Linked DNA regions of Homo sapiens: all the other regions are linked to region 3. Evidence: promoter capture Hi-C in human tissues and cell types (Jung and others, 2019). All regions are on one chromosome and are shown on one strand. The core of a region is centred on a gene start or on the middle of the fragment in contact, and the rest is flanking DNA. Distances in the headings are between cores, read along the strand shown.

Evidence for each region. The method cuts DNA at HindIII sites, captures the fragments that hold promoters and counts their contacts. A contact is called where the count stands out against the background at its distance.
Region 1: a contact is called between the fragment with the promoter of LGALS7B here and the fragment with the promoter of IFNL1 in region 3, in 2 of the 25 tissues and cell types used here (heart left ventricle and mesenchymal stem cells).
Region 2: a contact is called between a fragment that was not itself captured here and the fragment with the promoter of IFNL1 in region 3, in 1 of the 25 tissues and cell types used here (thymus).
Region 4: a contact is called between the fragment with the promoter of MRPS12 here and the fragment with the promoter of IFNL1 in region 3, in 2 of the 25 tissues and cell types used here (heart left ventricle and mesenchymal stem cells).
Region 5: a contact is called between a fragment that was not itself captured here and the fragment with the promoter of IFNL1 in region 3, in 2 of the 25 tissues and cell types used here (IMR-90 fibroblasts and mesenchymal stem cells).

What each region holds. Positions count from the first base shown.
Region 1 is chr19:38,787,899-38,790,598 of GRCh38, reverse strand. It overlaps LGALS7B (galectin 7B), which reads right to left and starts at 1,399. Exons shown (of 4, transcript NM_001042507.4): 1 at 1,367-1,399; 2 at 895-983. The coding sequence starts at 1,372. The HindIII fragment of the contact is 15,298 bases long and covers 1-2,700 here.
Region 2 is chr19:38,842,234-38,844,933 of GRCh38, reverse strand. It overlaps HNRNPL (heterogeneous nuclear ribonucleoprotein L), which reads left to right. Exons shown (of 13, transcript NM_001533.3): 5 at 830-926; 6 at 1,020-1,092. Among named protein-coding and RNA genes, the nearest start is that of HNRNPL, 6.4 kb to the left of the region's middle. RefSeq lists enhancers at 1,523-2,023, 2,106-2,185. The HindIII fragment of the contact is 4,246 bases long and covers 1-2,700 here.
Region 3 is chr19:39,295,008-39,297,707 of GRCh38, reverse strand. IFNL1 (interferon lambda 1) reads right to left here and starts at 1,301. Exons shown (of 5, transcript NM_172140.2): 1 at 1,116-1,301; 2 at 826-903. The coding sequence starts at 1,286. The HindIII fragment of the contact is 11,779 bases long and covers 1-2,404 here.
Region 4 is chr19:38,929,524-38,932,223 of GRCh38, reverse strand. It overlaps MRPS12 (mitochondrial ribosomal protein S12), which reads right to left and starts at 1,280. Exons shown (of 3, transcript NM_033362.4): 1 at 1,226-1,280; 2 at 881-948. The coding sequence starts at 929. It overlaps SARS2 (seryl-tRNA synthetase 2, mitochondrial), which reads left to right and starts at 1,461. Exons shown (of 16, transcript NM_017827.4): 1 at 1,461-1,754. The coding sequence starts at 1,488. RefSeq lists an enhancer at 1,377-1,836. The HindIII fragment of the contact is 13,053 bases long and covers 1-2,700 here.
Region 5 is chr19:38,981,648-38,984,347 of GRCh38, reverse strand. No RefSeq gene overlaps it. Among named protein-coding and RNA genes, the nearest start is that of FBXO17, 7.3 kb to the right of the region's middle. The HindIII fragment of the contact is 8,720 bases long and covers 1-2,700 here.

The DNA of each region.
Region 1 (2,700 bases), core at 150-2,649, 510 kb after region 3:
TTTGAATGAATAAGTAAATGAAATGTTGGCTGGGTGCAGTGGCTCACCCTGTAATCCCAGCACTCTGGGAGGTGGAGAAGGGAGGATCGCTTGGGCCCGGAAGTTAAAGACCAGCCTGGGCAACATAGCGAGACCCCACCTTACAAAAAAACGAAAGAACAAACAAAACATAAACCGCCCAGACCAAAGTGAAGGTCTTATGGGCTGGCACTCCCCATTCCCAGAGTACCCCCAAATTAACAGGGACCTGAAGACAGGCACACACCGCAGAAGGAGAGGTGGGCGACTAATGACCAGGGAGCTTAGATTCCCAAGGCAGCCAAAATATCATGAGGCCCTTGGCAGAAACCTACCCAGACCAAACTCACTACGCTTAGGGCAGGGTGCCCTCATTTCCAAAGAGCCTGGGAGCTGCCCAGGAGGTCTGGGTGATAGCCAGGGTGCTCCTGATGCTCAGGGAACCCTCAGCTTCTACAGGACAAAGAATAATACCAGGAACCCCAGTATTTCCAGGGTACCTCAGAATCCAGAAGGCCCGAAGTTCCTTAGCCAGGAAGTCAAAGGATGGCTTGGCAAGGACTCCCAGGGTCCAGGGTGTCTCCAGGACTTGGAGTATTTCCAGAGTTCCCTGGGACTCAGACATGGAAGTCATAGGACTATATCTAGGAACCCTGAGATTACCCAGGGACCTCAAATGCTTAGGGAAACTTAGGGACCCCAGCCACAAAGGCACGGGGGCAAATACGAATACATCAGATTTGAGGTCAGAAATGGCCTCGGACTCCTAGCCTGGTGGATACAGGTGGCCTCGGGCCCCTACTTCTGGACTGCAAAAATTGGGAGTCAGCTGATCCTGAGACCTGTACCCTTTACCCCTAGGGCCTGGGGCCTCACCTGCTGGCATTGGGAGGAACCAAGCCGCGAATTCTCAGCACCGTGCCAGGGCGGATGCCCTCGGGCAGTGAGGACTTGTGGGGGACGTTCTGCAAGAGTGGGGTGCAGGGGCCACTGTGAGCCGGTGAGACCGAAGGAGGGAGGCAGAAGGTGGGTCACCCCTCAGAGGAGCCGACCAGGGCTGAGACTGGCAGAAATCAGTGGAAGAGGAAAGGGTGGCGGAGAGGCAGGAAAGAGACCAGAAACAGACAGGGAAACAGATGGGGAGAGCAACAAAGACAAACAGAAAGATCCTCAAAGAGGGCCCCAGAGGAAGCCACAAAGAGGTAGAGGGGACAGTCGGGATGGGGGTTACCCGGAGGCCACAGCCCAGGCCAGTCCGTGGCACACTCACTGCCCACTTGCTCCTTTGAAAGAGGAGCCCCCAGCCCCCTCCCTGCTTGGCCCCGCCCCGGGCCCCTGGAGCACTCACGGACATGGCTGGGACCGGGTTGGGCAGCCGTGGTGGTGGGGCCTGCTGGGGACCTTAAATAAAAGCAGGGCGGGGCTGGCCCTGATGACTCACCCCACCCCTTCCCACCCACCACCCACACCTGGCACGGACCCTGGCCCTGGGGCAAGCCTGGCGAAGTGGGAGTGGCGCCTCTTCTTGGGGGCCCTGATCCCCCCATCACCCAGAGCCCGGGTGCACTGCCCCTCTCCTAGGAGCTGATAATAAGAGCCACCGCCCCTCCACCCCTGTCTTCCCACTGCCTGGCACACAGGAGAGTCTCTCATGCTCATTTTATCCACAGACATGTTGGGTCCTGAGAAGCCAAGCCCAGCGGGAACTCTAGACCCTTCTCTCCAGCTGAGAACCTCCTGCCTAGACTGGAAATGTCTGCGCTGAAATCCCTGCTTCTAAGTCTCCAGTGGAACAGCAGCCACAACAACGACGATAGTGCCAGACAGGGGGACTTCACAGGGTCGGAGGGCGGCCTGGTTGGCTCAGTGCTGCACCCCTGGGTCCTGGAGTGTGCCGGGTTCATGGGAAGTCCTCAGTCAGGAGGGGTGAAAGGAGGGGATCCACTAGGACTACGCTTGTCATTTCCCAGGCCCTTGGGCTGCCCAGGATATGCAGGAAATCACTGATTGGGACCCCACCATTCCAACAGAGAGAAGCATGGGTCACCCCCATTGTACAGAGAAGGAGGCTGAGGCTGGGATGGGAAGTGATTTTCCACAAGCCGGGCAGGACCCATTGCCCCAACCTCTGCCTTTCCTCACCTCTGGGCGTGCCTCTCCTGTGGGTTCTGTCTCTGGGGCTGGCTGTCTGGCTCTGTTTGTCTCTGTCTATAACTGTCTACCGCGTATTCCTGTCCCACTTCTCTCCTTCAAGTCTCTCTTGTTCCTCCTTCCAGGACTGTTACCATCTTCCCACCAATTTTGCAGGTCAGGATGAGGTGGGTTTTAGGGTGGTGGGTGGCCTAGCATTCCATCACCACCTAGATCAAAAGCAGAGCAAGGTGGGGACCCTCCCGCCAGCCCCAATATAGCCCGCTTGGGCCCAAGACTCTAGAAGAGAATCCAGGGTTGGGGAAGTAGACTGGGGGAGGCGGGGGGGGGGGGGGGGGCGGGCAGGACTGAAATCTGTTTCTGAAAGGCAGGGATGGTGTGGGAGCTGAACAGAAACCACTCCTGGCTGGGCATGGTAGCTCACGCCTGTAATCCCAGCACTTTGGGAGGCCAAGGTAGGTGGATCACTTGAGGTCAGGAGTTCAAGACCAGCCTGGCCAACATGGTGAAACCCCTTCTCTATAGAAAATA
Region 2 (2,700 bases), core at 127-2,626, 450 kb after region 3:
AGTTCGAGACCAGCCTAGCCAACGTGGTGAAACCCTGTCGCTAATAATACAAAAAATAGCCAGGCATGGTGGTGAACGCCTGTAATCCCAGCTACTCTGGAGGCTGAGGCAGGAGAATCGCTTGAGCCTGGGAGGCGGAGATTGCAGTGAGCCGAGACTGTGCCACTGTATTCCATCCTGGGCAACACAGCGAGACTCCATATCCAAAAAAAAAAAAAAAAGGTGGGGCATGTGTGAAGGTTGCTGAGGAGGTGATGTCCTATGAGCAAATAGGAGCTTATACTCAAGGTGGAGGAAACAGCCTCTGCAAAGGTTGTAAAGTCAGAAGGAGCTTGTGTTGGATGGAGAAATTGAAAGACCTGAGGATTGCAAAGTGGCTGGCAAGCAGACGGGTTTGGAATAGACATTGGAAGAAGCTTTTAGGGCATCCTAGACAGCGTTGCGATGCTTGGGGCAGGGGCAGGAAAAAGCCACTGATGGACTTTCAGGGCAGAGCTGTAATCGAGTTGATGTTTCAGATTTAGTCGAAGGGTGTGAGAGGGCTGAGACGGAGAAAGTGGTGTGGCAGAAGAGGTTGCTGGTGGCCATGGGTCGGGGTGCAGATTATGAGAGAACTCTGGCCAGTGACTGCTCACCCGGGGCAGCGTTGAGTCCATCAACACCGTTTTGGTCTCTTAACCTGAGGCTAGTGGCTGGGCAGTGAGCTAATCCCAAAGCTTCCGTCTGTACCACAGTCTTGGGGTGCTACCTTGTCCTTATCACACTCTGGGGTAACTTGAAGCCCTTCTCAAAGATCTCCTGTGATGGGACTTTCCTTAACTTGACTCACATTTGACTCAGTTCAAAGTGCCCAGCGGGCCAAGGCCTCTCTCAATGGGGCTGATATCTATTCTGGCTGTTGCACTCTGAAGATCGAATACGCAAAGGTACATCTGGGAGGTGACTGACTGCCCCTTGTCAGCTTCCAGGTGAGCTGGGGCATGGCTGACCTCAAGTCTTGTCTTGTCCTGTCCTTGCAGCCTACACGCTTGAATGTGTTCAAGAATGATCAGGATACTTGGGACTACACAAACCCCAATCTCAGTGGACAAGGTAATCTTGACGACCACTTTGTTCTAAACATACCCGCCTTGCTTTCACTCGACTAGTGCACTTAATAGGCCTGGGCTCAGGGTTATGTAATGCCATTGGGCCCCCCATGGACATGGGAGGGCCTTGGGGTCAGCACTTGGACACCCTAGTGGGATGGGGGAGTGAGAGGCCTCCATGGGTCTTCACTGCTGCTTGGGGCCCTCCGATGCTGCTCAGGATACAGAGGCAAGGCAGAAGCCTGGATGGGCGGGGAGCAGGGCCTCACTGAGGATGAGGCGTGGGGGCGGCCTTAGAAACCAGCAGTGGCTCCTTTGAGAGTCTGGTGAGGGTCACTCACTCCATTCTTGCTGGACCAGGAATTGTCCTCTTGTTCTGCGCTGTTGAGAGGGTCTGATTTGGGGGAGTGACAGTGTTGGGGGGCGATGAGGTCTCCTGGGCTCTTGCAGTGAGCCTTGTGAGCAAGCTGACCCTGTGGAGGTGAGACACTCTGGATTGGACCAGGGCGGACATGCCTCACATCATTTGTAGAGGGGACGCAACATCTCTGCAGGTGGCCCAAATGGACAACTCCCTTCCTAGTGTCTGTCAAGAATGGTTTGCCTTTGGTAGCAGGGAGAGGTGGAGGATTGCCTATGAGAAACAGCGGCAGCCCCCCAACAAGACCATCCATCTCGGTGTCTGTCTTGGTCTGATACGTCGGACCAGGCCATGGGCTGAGGGAGGAGGCTCGATGCTGACATCGCACAGGCCCTGAGAGGCCAGAGCCCCCCATTCCTAGGCAGGCCTGTCTTGCTCGCCCTTGCATCTGGGAAGCAGTGGGCAGGGTGGGCTAGACTCTTCCCCAGGATCCTCACAGTGGGCCCTGTGGGCCTGGCTGCTCCCTCCAAAGGTCAGAGGCAAATTGGTGACCAAGTGAATGTACCAGAGCGGGCAATGGCATTACATGACTGCTAACAGAAACATGGCAACAACCATTTCTTCTCCAAGGAACATAAATAGAAGATGTGCAGACCGGCAGGGGCTAGTGGCAGGGGGCTGGCTGTGCATTGGTTTTGATGCCTCTCAGCTTTGGCAGCCCCAAGGCTGGGGCCCAAAAAAAAACGAGGGCTGATGAGGTGACCTGGAGTGAGGGCGGTGCTTCGCCACCCCTCAGGAACCATACTTCAGCGGCTCTGCCTCTGCACATTGCTCACCAACACACAGGGTAGAAAACCACTAGCTCTTCCTGGAGAGAACAGAACATGCAGCCTCCACCACGTCCCCAGAAACAGCCGCAGACTTGAGCTCACTACATCAAGAACACCACACCGCGCTCCAAGGAACAGCTACAAGCACAGAGACAGAGGCATACAGAGACAAAGAGAGAAAGAGACGCAACATGGCAGCAGACACTGCTTTTTTTATTAAACATTAAAAAAAAGGTCAAAATCCAAGCAAACTTGAACCCGAGAATGTACACAGAAGTAGGAAACACAGAGAACAGAGCTGTCCCAGCCAGCCAGCGAGCGATGCTCTTTTCGGAGAACGTTTCATAGACGGAAGTAGATTCCATGGGCCTCCAAGACAATAGGATCCTCTCTCCATTCCTCGCCATATGGGTTTTGTTTT
Region 3 (2,700 bases), core at 52-2,551:
TCTGGGGCGGGGTGGGGACGGGTGAGGAGAAAGCAGGTTGGGGGCACAGTAAGAGAGGGACAGTTGCATGCACAGAGAAGAAGGGTAGGGCTGGGTGTGGTGGCTCACGCCTGTAATCCCAGCACTTTGGGAGGCCGAGGCGGGTGGATCACCTGAGGTCAGGATTTCGAGACCAAGCCTGGCCAACATAGTGAAACCCCGTCTCTGCTAAAAATACAAAAATTAGCTGGGCATCATGGCACATGCCTGTAATCCCAGCTACTCGGGAGGCTGAGGCAGGATAATTGCTTGAACCCGGGAGGCAGAGGTTGCAGTGAACCGAGATCATGCCACTGCACTCCAGCCTGGGCCATAGAGCAAGACTCTGTCTCAAAAAAAAAAAAAAAAAAAAAAAAAAGAGAAGGGTGGATGAGGGGGGAGCATGAGCTGGATGAATGTCAGTGAGAGATAATGAGGGACAGGTGACAGAGGCAGGTGAGAGGGAGAGGGGGTCAGTGTTGGGAACAGACAGGGAGAAGTGGAGCAGGACGAAAGGCACAGGTGGGCGACAGACTGGAGACATTTGGGAGAGAAATGAAGAGTGAGAGTGGAAGTGACAGGGACAGGTGAGCGAGCTAGGGAAGTGGGGCCGATGGGAGATGATAAAAGGGACCCAGGGGAAGGACAGAGTCAAGAGAGCAGTTTTGAAGTGGCAGGGGCACAGGACAGGTGAGGAGAGGTCCAAGAGAGTGAAGGACAAGGGAAACAAAGAAGGCTAAGGGGCCACTTAAGAAGAGGGGGGAGAGGGTCAAGGGAAGGGTGAAGGGGGCCTGACTTTCAGCTCACCTGGAGAAGCCTCAGGTCCCAATTCCCGGGGAAGACAGGAGAGCTGCAACTCCAGTTTTTCAGCTTGAGTGACTCTTCCTAGAGAGCAAGGGCAGGGGTTAGCCCACAGCAGGATGGCTGGAAGCTAGCTCATAGCAGCAAGGATGAAGTTGGCCTGACAGCATGGGTTTAACCCAGTGCAGAAAGGATAGAGGTTTGCCATAGTTGGAAGGCTAGAGGCTAGCCCACAGTAGAAGGGCAGTAATTGGGACACCCGTAGAAGTGGTTCATCCACAGCAACAGGAACTCACCAAGGCGTCCCTGGCCTTCTTGAAGCTCGCTAGCTCCTGTGGTGACAGAGATTTGAACCTGCCAATGTGGCAGCCCTTCCCAGTTGTGGTGGGCTTGGAAGTGGGGACAGGGCCTGCCACGGCCAAGCCTAGCACCAAAGTCACCAGCACCACGGTCCAAGCTGCAGCCATGGCTAAATCGCAACTGCTTCCCCAGCGGCATGGCTCTGCTTTTTAGCCACGCAAAATGGGCAATCCAAGATGATGTGTGTAAAGTGAAAAGGTAATTGGAAATGAGAATTTCCACTTTGACTTAAGAGGCATGAGTGGGCGGGGCCCGTCTGGGAGCCTGATGAGGGAACAGGTGTGGGCAGGGCCAAGTGAGCTGGGAGCTGCATCAAGAAGGAAAGAGAAACTGAAATCCTTAGAACTCCCTGGGCAGCTTTCAGCCAACTGGCCTCAGGGAGTCCCTGACGGAGGCTGAGATTAGGGATAAGGCTACCTGAGTGGCAGAGAGGAAGCTTCTTTTTTATTCTAAATTAGCCAGGTGTGGTGGCATGCGCCTGTGGTCTCAGCTACTCAGGAGGCCGAGGCATGAGAATCACTTGAACCCGGGAGGCGGAGGTTGCAGTGAGCCAAGATCGTGCCACTGCACTCCAGCCTGGGTGATGGAGTGAGATCCTGTTTCAAAAAAAAAAAAGCTTGTTTTTTATTTTATTGTTATTATTATTTTTTGAGACGTAGTTTTGCTCTTGTTGCCCAGGCTGGAGTGCAATGGTGCAATCTTGGCTCACTGCAACTTCTGCCTCCCGAGTTGAAGCGATTCTCCTGCCTCAGCCTCCTAAGTAGTTGGGATTACAGGTGCATGCCATCACGCCTGGCTAGTTTTTGTATTTTTAGTAGAGACTGGGTTTTACTATGTTGGTCACGCTGGCTTCGAACTCCTGACTTCAGATGATCTGCCTGCCTTGGCCTCCCAAAGTGCTGGGATTACAGGCGTGAGCCACCACCTTACTTTATTATTTATTTATTTATTTTTGTAGAGATAGGGGTCTCACTATGTTGCCCAGGCCAGTCTTGAACTCCTGGCCTTAAGCCATCCTCCTGCTTCAGCCTCGCAAAGTGCTAGTATTAAAGGCATGAGCCACTGCTCCTGGCCAAGAAGGAGCTTCTGCCATTGGTTTAAGAATGTCCCATTAACTAATTTCAGTTCATGCTCCTAATGTTTCTCTGAGTAGTTATTTTTATAATTGTGATGGTTAATTTTAGGTGTCACCTTGACTGGTTAAGTTTATCAGATAGCTGGTGATGCGTTAATTCTGGGTATGACTCTGGGGTGTTTCCAGAAGAGATTGGCATTTGAATCAATGGACTGAGTAAGGAAGACCCGTTGTTACCCAATGTGGTGGGCACCATCCAATTGGCCGAGGGCCTGAATAGAACAAAAAGGCAGAGGAAAGGAGAATTTGCTCTCTCTTATGAGCTGGGACACCCTGCACCTGCCCTTAAACATCAGAACTCCAGGCTCTTTGGTCTTTGAATGCTGGGATGTGCAGCTGGGCATGGTGGCTCACGCCTGTAATCCCAGCAGTTTGGGAGGCTGAGG
Region 4 (2,700 bases), core at 31-2,530, 370 kb after region 3:
GTTCACATCTAATGTTATCTACAGACAAAAGTAACTCTTTATTCTTCAAGGAAGCATTACCTTTTTTTTTTTTTTCTTTTTTTTTTTTGAGACAAAGTCTCACTCTGTCGCCCAGGCTGGAGTGCAGTACCTCAATCTTGGCCCACTGCAACCTCTGCCTCCTGGGTTCAAGCAATTCTCCTGTCTCAGCCTCCTGAGCAGCTGGGACTACAGGCACCCACCACCACGCTCGGCTAATCTTCGTATTTTTAAGTAGAGACGGGGTTTCACCATGTTGGTCAGGCTGGTCTCGAACTCCTGACCTCGGCCTCTCAAAGTGCTGGGATTACAGGCGTGAGCCACCACGGCTGGCCAGGAAGCATTATTTTTAATGCTGTTTAAAATAATAGTAGGCTCAGTGGCTCATGCATGTAATCCTAGCACTTTTGGAGGCTGTGGAGGGTCACTTGAGCTCAGGAGTTAAGGCCAGACTGGGCGACACAGGGAGACCTCCCTCTCTACAAAGAATCAAAAAGTTAGCTGGTTGTGGTTCTGCAGGCCTGTGGTCCCAGCTACTTGGGAGGCTGAGGCGGGAGGATCACTTGAGCCCAGGAGGTCGAGACTGCAGTGAGCTGTGATCACACCGCTGCACTTCAGCCTGGGCGACAGAGGGAGATCTTAAATAAATAAATAATAAAACTGACCCAAACGCCGCTTGACACGCAGTAGCCCTCCATGCAGCTGCTTCCCACCTCTTGCTCTAGCAGCCCTAGCTCTGCCAAAACCCCACCGTGTTTTTCCACCCCCGTTTCCCTCGGGGCTCCGACGGAGGCACACAAGTCCAAGAGCGAATAACCCTCCCCCTCTAGCCTCGTCCCTGAAGCCCAAGTCCCCCACTTACCACAAGTTAGGGACGTGTTGAGGCCATGGAGAAGGCCAGACCAGGACATCCTGCCACCTGGGCCGTCCCTGTGGTAGGGGATAAGAGACTCAGAAAGGAGGAAAAAGTGACCGATCCGCAAATGCTCCCCGATCCGCTCTCAGGACTTTCTGGCTTAAATCAAAGGAAATACCTCTATAGGTCTAACCACAGGCCCTCATGCTGCTAACAGAAAGTCCCTCCGTAAATTTAGCCTCGCTCTGAGTGGGTTCCCGAGGGCCCAACCACTCTCGCCCGCACGCAGGAAGAACTGGGAAACTGGGGAGATGGCCTGGTAGATTTGGAGGACCCCAGGATTCCACCGACCTCACAGGACCTAAAGGTGAGGTCGCGGACACGCTGAATCCAGCTTCTAGCCTCTTCCGGGCGCTATCCGTGCAGGGATTGGCTGGTTCTGCCTCGCGTCACTGAAGAGGCGGGACACAGACGACGATTGGGCGACGAAGGACTCTATCGCGGTCAACTTTCCTCAGGATCTGATTGGCTCGTCACGGTCAGGTTCGCTGCCTTGCAATTGGTCTAAACGCGGAGTGGGCGGGACGAAGTGCCGCCTTGTTCCCGGTCCAAGATGGCTGCGTCCATGGCGCGGCGCTTGTGGCCTTTGCTGACTCGTCGGGGGTTCCGGCCCCGGGGAGGCTGCATCTCCAACGATAGTCCAAGGAGAAGTTTCACTACAGAGAAACGAAACCGGAACCTCCTGTACGAGTATGCGCGCGAGGGCTACAGCGCACTCCCTCAGCTGGACATAGAGCGGTTCTGCGCATGCCCAGAAGAGGCCGCACACGCCCTGGAGCTCCGCAAGGGGGAGCTGCGCTCGGCGGACCTGCCCGCGATCGTGAGTGCGCCTGCGCCGGCCGGGGGGCGCAGACGTTTGCTTTACGGAAGAATTGGGTTTGCAAGATGCCCTCCGGCAGGGGGCGAACCTGTAGTAGGAATTTTAGTTATTTCCCAAGTTAGCCAACGTCTTGTGCATGGCACCCACTTATGTGCCAGTTGTCCAGTGAGTGCTGAGGCCCTACTATGTGCCAAGAATGCCTACTGTGTCCTGGACACCCATTATGCGCTTGTTTCATACTGCTCGCTGGGTACCTCCTGTCCTTTAGGAACTTGCTATGTGACATTGCCCTCCGTGCTGCAACCTCATGCCAGCCTTTCCCTAAGACCACAAAGGAAAATGGGGAGCCAAGTGTGAATCGGACGGGGTCAGGGCTGGGGTGTGGTGGAGCTCTTGCGTTTAGAGAGAGAGGTAGGGAGAGTTGTGCACCTCCGCCACACATAGCAGGCAGTTAAATAGAGTTAATGAATGAATGAATGAATCCATTAATGAATGGTTCTATTAAACTGATACTTAAGGTGCAACTGCTATATTCCGGTGTTCTAGATGTTGCAAATATGCGGTGAATAATAATAAAATTGCTAGCACTTATAAAAGGGAATTAGGACCGGGTTCACAATATCTCTGTGTTGAGGTGCTAACGATAGTGGGGTCCCCACGTCTTCCCATTCCTCTCTTGGACTCCCCTCCCAGCCTGTTTGAAGTGCTTTATTCACTTTAACCTCGTTTAATTTTCACAGCAACTCTATGAAGTAGGTGCCATTATTTCTCCCATTTTATCAGAGGGGAAACTAAGGCTTCGAGAAGCTAATTCACTTGCGCTAGGTCATGCAACTGGGAAGTGGCAGAGTGGGAATTTTAACCTGTGCTTTCTGGCCTAGAATCCACTTTTTTTTTTTTTTTTTTTGAGATAGGGTGTTGTTCTGTCGCCCAGGATGGCAGGATG
Region 5 (2,700 bases), core at 127-2,626, 310 kb after region 3:
CTTCTTTCACATATTAATTTACTCATTCATTCCACAAATATATATATATATATATAATTTCTTTTTTTGAGACAGAGTCTTGCTCTGTCACCCAGGCCAGAGTGCAATGGTGCGATCTTGGTTCACCGCAACCTCCACCTCCCAGGTTCAAGTGATTCCCCTGCCTCAGCCTCCCAAGTAGCTGGGATTACAGACATGTACCACCATGCCTGGATAACTTTTTGTATTTTTATATTTCTTTATTTATTTTTTTTTCTGAGATGGAGTCTTGCTCTGTCACCCATGCTGGAGTGCAGTGGCACTCTCTCTGCTCACTGCAACCGTTACCTCGATTCTCCTATCTCAGTCCCCCAGGTAGCTGGGATTACAGGCACCCGCTACCACGCCTGGCTAATTTTTTGTATTTTTAATAGAAATGGAGTTTCATCATGTTGGCCAGGCTGGTCTCAAACTCCTGACCTCAGGTGATCTACCCACCTAGGCCTCCCAAAGTGTTGGGATTACAGGCGTGAGCCACTGCACCCGGCCTAGGCTTCTCTGTTTCTTAGCGCTATTGTCTCTACTTGTTTCTTCAGGGTAGCAAAGGTCCCTATTCCAGAGAGTTGCTGGAAGAATTAGATGTGATACTGTACCTAGATCTCTTAGCCCAGAACCTGGCACTTAAGATTTTATTTTATTTTTATTTTTTTTCTTTTTTATTTATTTATTTTGGCACTTAATATTTTAGAACTAATGATTATAAAATGTGATTAGATAACAACTACTAGAATGATGACCACTATTATTATAAAAGAACTATGGTCCGAGCCAGACATGGTGGTTCATGCCTGTAATCACAGCACCTTGGGAGGCCGAGGTGGGAGGATCACTTGAGGTCAGGAGTTCAAGACCAGCCTGGGCAACATAGCAAGACGACAGGCGTGGTTGCTGATGCCTGTATTCCCAGCACTTTGGGAGGCCGAGGATTACTTGAGGTCAGGAGACCAGCCTGGCCAACACCAGTGAAACCCCATCTCTACTAAAAATACAAAAAAATTAGCTGGGTGTGGTGGTACATGGCTGTAGTCCCAGCTACTAGGGAGGCTGAGGCAAGAAAATTGCTTGAACCTGGGAGATGGAGGTTGCAGTGAGCCAAGATCATGCCATTGCACTCCAGCCTGAGCAACAGATCAAGACTCCATCTCAAAAAAAAAAAAAAAAAAAAAAAAAAAAAAGAGCCCAGGCATGGTAGCTCACGCCTATAATCCCAGCATTTTGGGAGGCCAAGGCAGGTGGATCACATGAGGTCAGGAGTTTGAGACCAGCCTGGCCAACATAGTAAAACCCCATCTCTACTAAAAATACAAAAATTAGCCAGGCGTGGCAGAGTGCACCTATAATCCCAGCTACTTGGGAGGCTGAGGCAGGAGAATTGCTGGAACCCAGGAGGTGGAGATTGCAATGAGCCAAGATCGCACCACTGCACTCCACCCTGGGTAACAGAGTGAGACTGTGTCTCAAAAAAAATTTAAATAAATAACTATGGTGTATGGTAGACTGAATAATCCCCCCTTCTGCCAAAATTATCCAGGTCCTAACCTCTGGAATTTGTGAATGTTTCCTTATATGGCAAAAATAACTTTGCAGATATAATGACGTTAAGGTGGGTGGGGGGATCTTTGTTTTTTAGAGACGAGGTCTCCCTACGTTGCCCAGGCTGGTCTCGAATTCCTAAGCTAAAGTTATCCTCCTGCCCCAGCTTCCCAAACTGCTGAAATTACAGGTGTGAGCCACCACACCTGGCCGAAGTTATAGGTTTTGAGACAAGAAGATTATCCTGGAGTATCTAGGTGGGAGGCAACCCAGACCCCCACACGGCCTCCTGTGACACCCTTGCAGACAGTAGTCTCTCCAGGTGGCATGTGGCTTGAGAATTTTTTTGGAGCTTACTCTATGAGTCTGTGCCTGTCTAGGTATTGTGGCTCACGCCTGTAATCCCAGCACTTTGGGAAGCTGAGGCGGAAGGATTGCTTGAGCCCAGGAGACCAGCCCTGGGAACATGGTGATACCCTATCTTTACCCCAAAAAAAAAAAAAAAAGCCAGGTGTGGTGGTGCACACCTGTAGTCCCAGCTACTTGGGAGGTTGAGGTGGGAGGATCACTTGAACCCAGGAGGTCGAGGCTGTCATGAGCCATGATCATGCCACTGCACTCTAGCCTGGGCAACAGAGCAAGACCTTGTCTCAAAACAAAACAAAAAAAAGTGTGTGTGTGTGTGTGTGTGTGTGTGTGTGTGTGCCTTCAGTTCTGTGTGTGTGTGTACCTGTCTCTATCCCTACCAGGGGTTGTGTCTCTATGTCTCTATTTATATCTAAATGGATATTTTTTGTGCCCTACATTTTCCAAGAGGATTCCTTGCAAGTTTCCTTTTTTGTTCAGAAGATCTTCCTGGCCGGGCACGGTGGTTCACACCTGTAATCCCAACACTTTGGGAGGCTGAGGCAGGTGGATCACATGGTCAGGAGTTTGAGACCAGCCTGGCCAATATGGTGAAACTCCATCTCTACTAATAATACAAAAATTAGCCAGGCATGGTGGTGGGCGCCTGTAATCCCAGCTACTCAGAAGGCTGAGGCAGGAGAATTGCTTGAACTCGGGAGGCGGAAGTTGCAGTGAGCCGAGATGGCACCACTGCACACAGCCTGGGCGACAGAGAAAGAC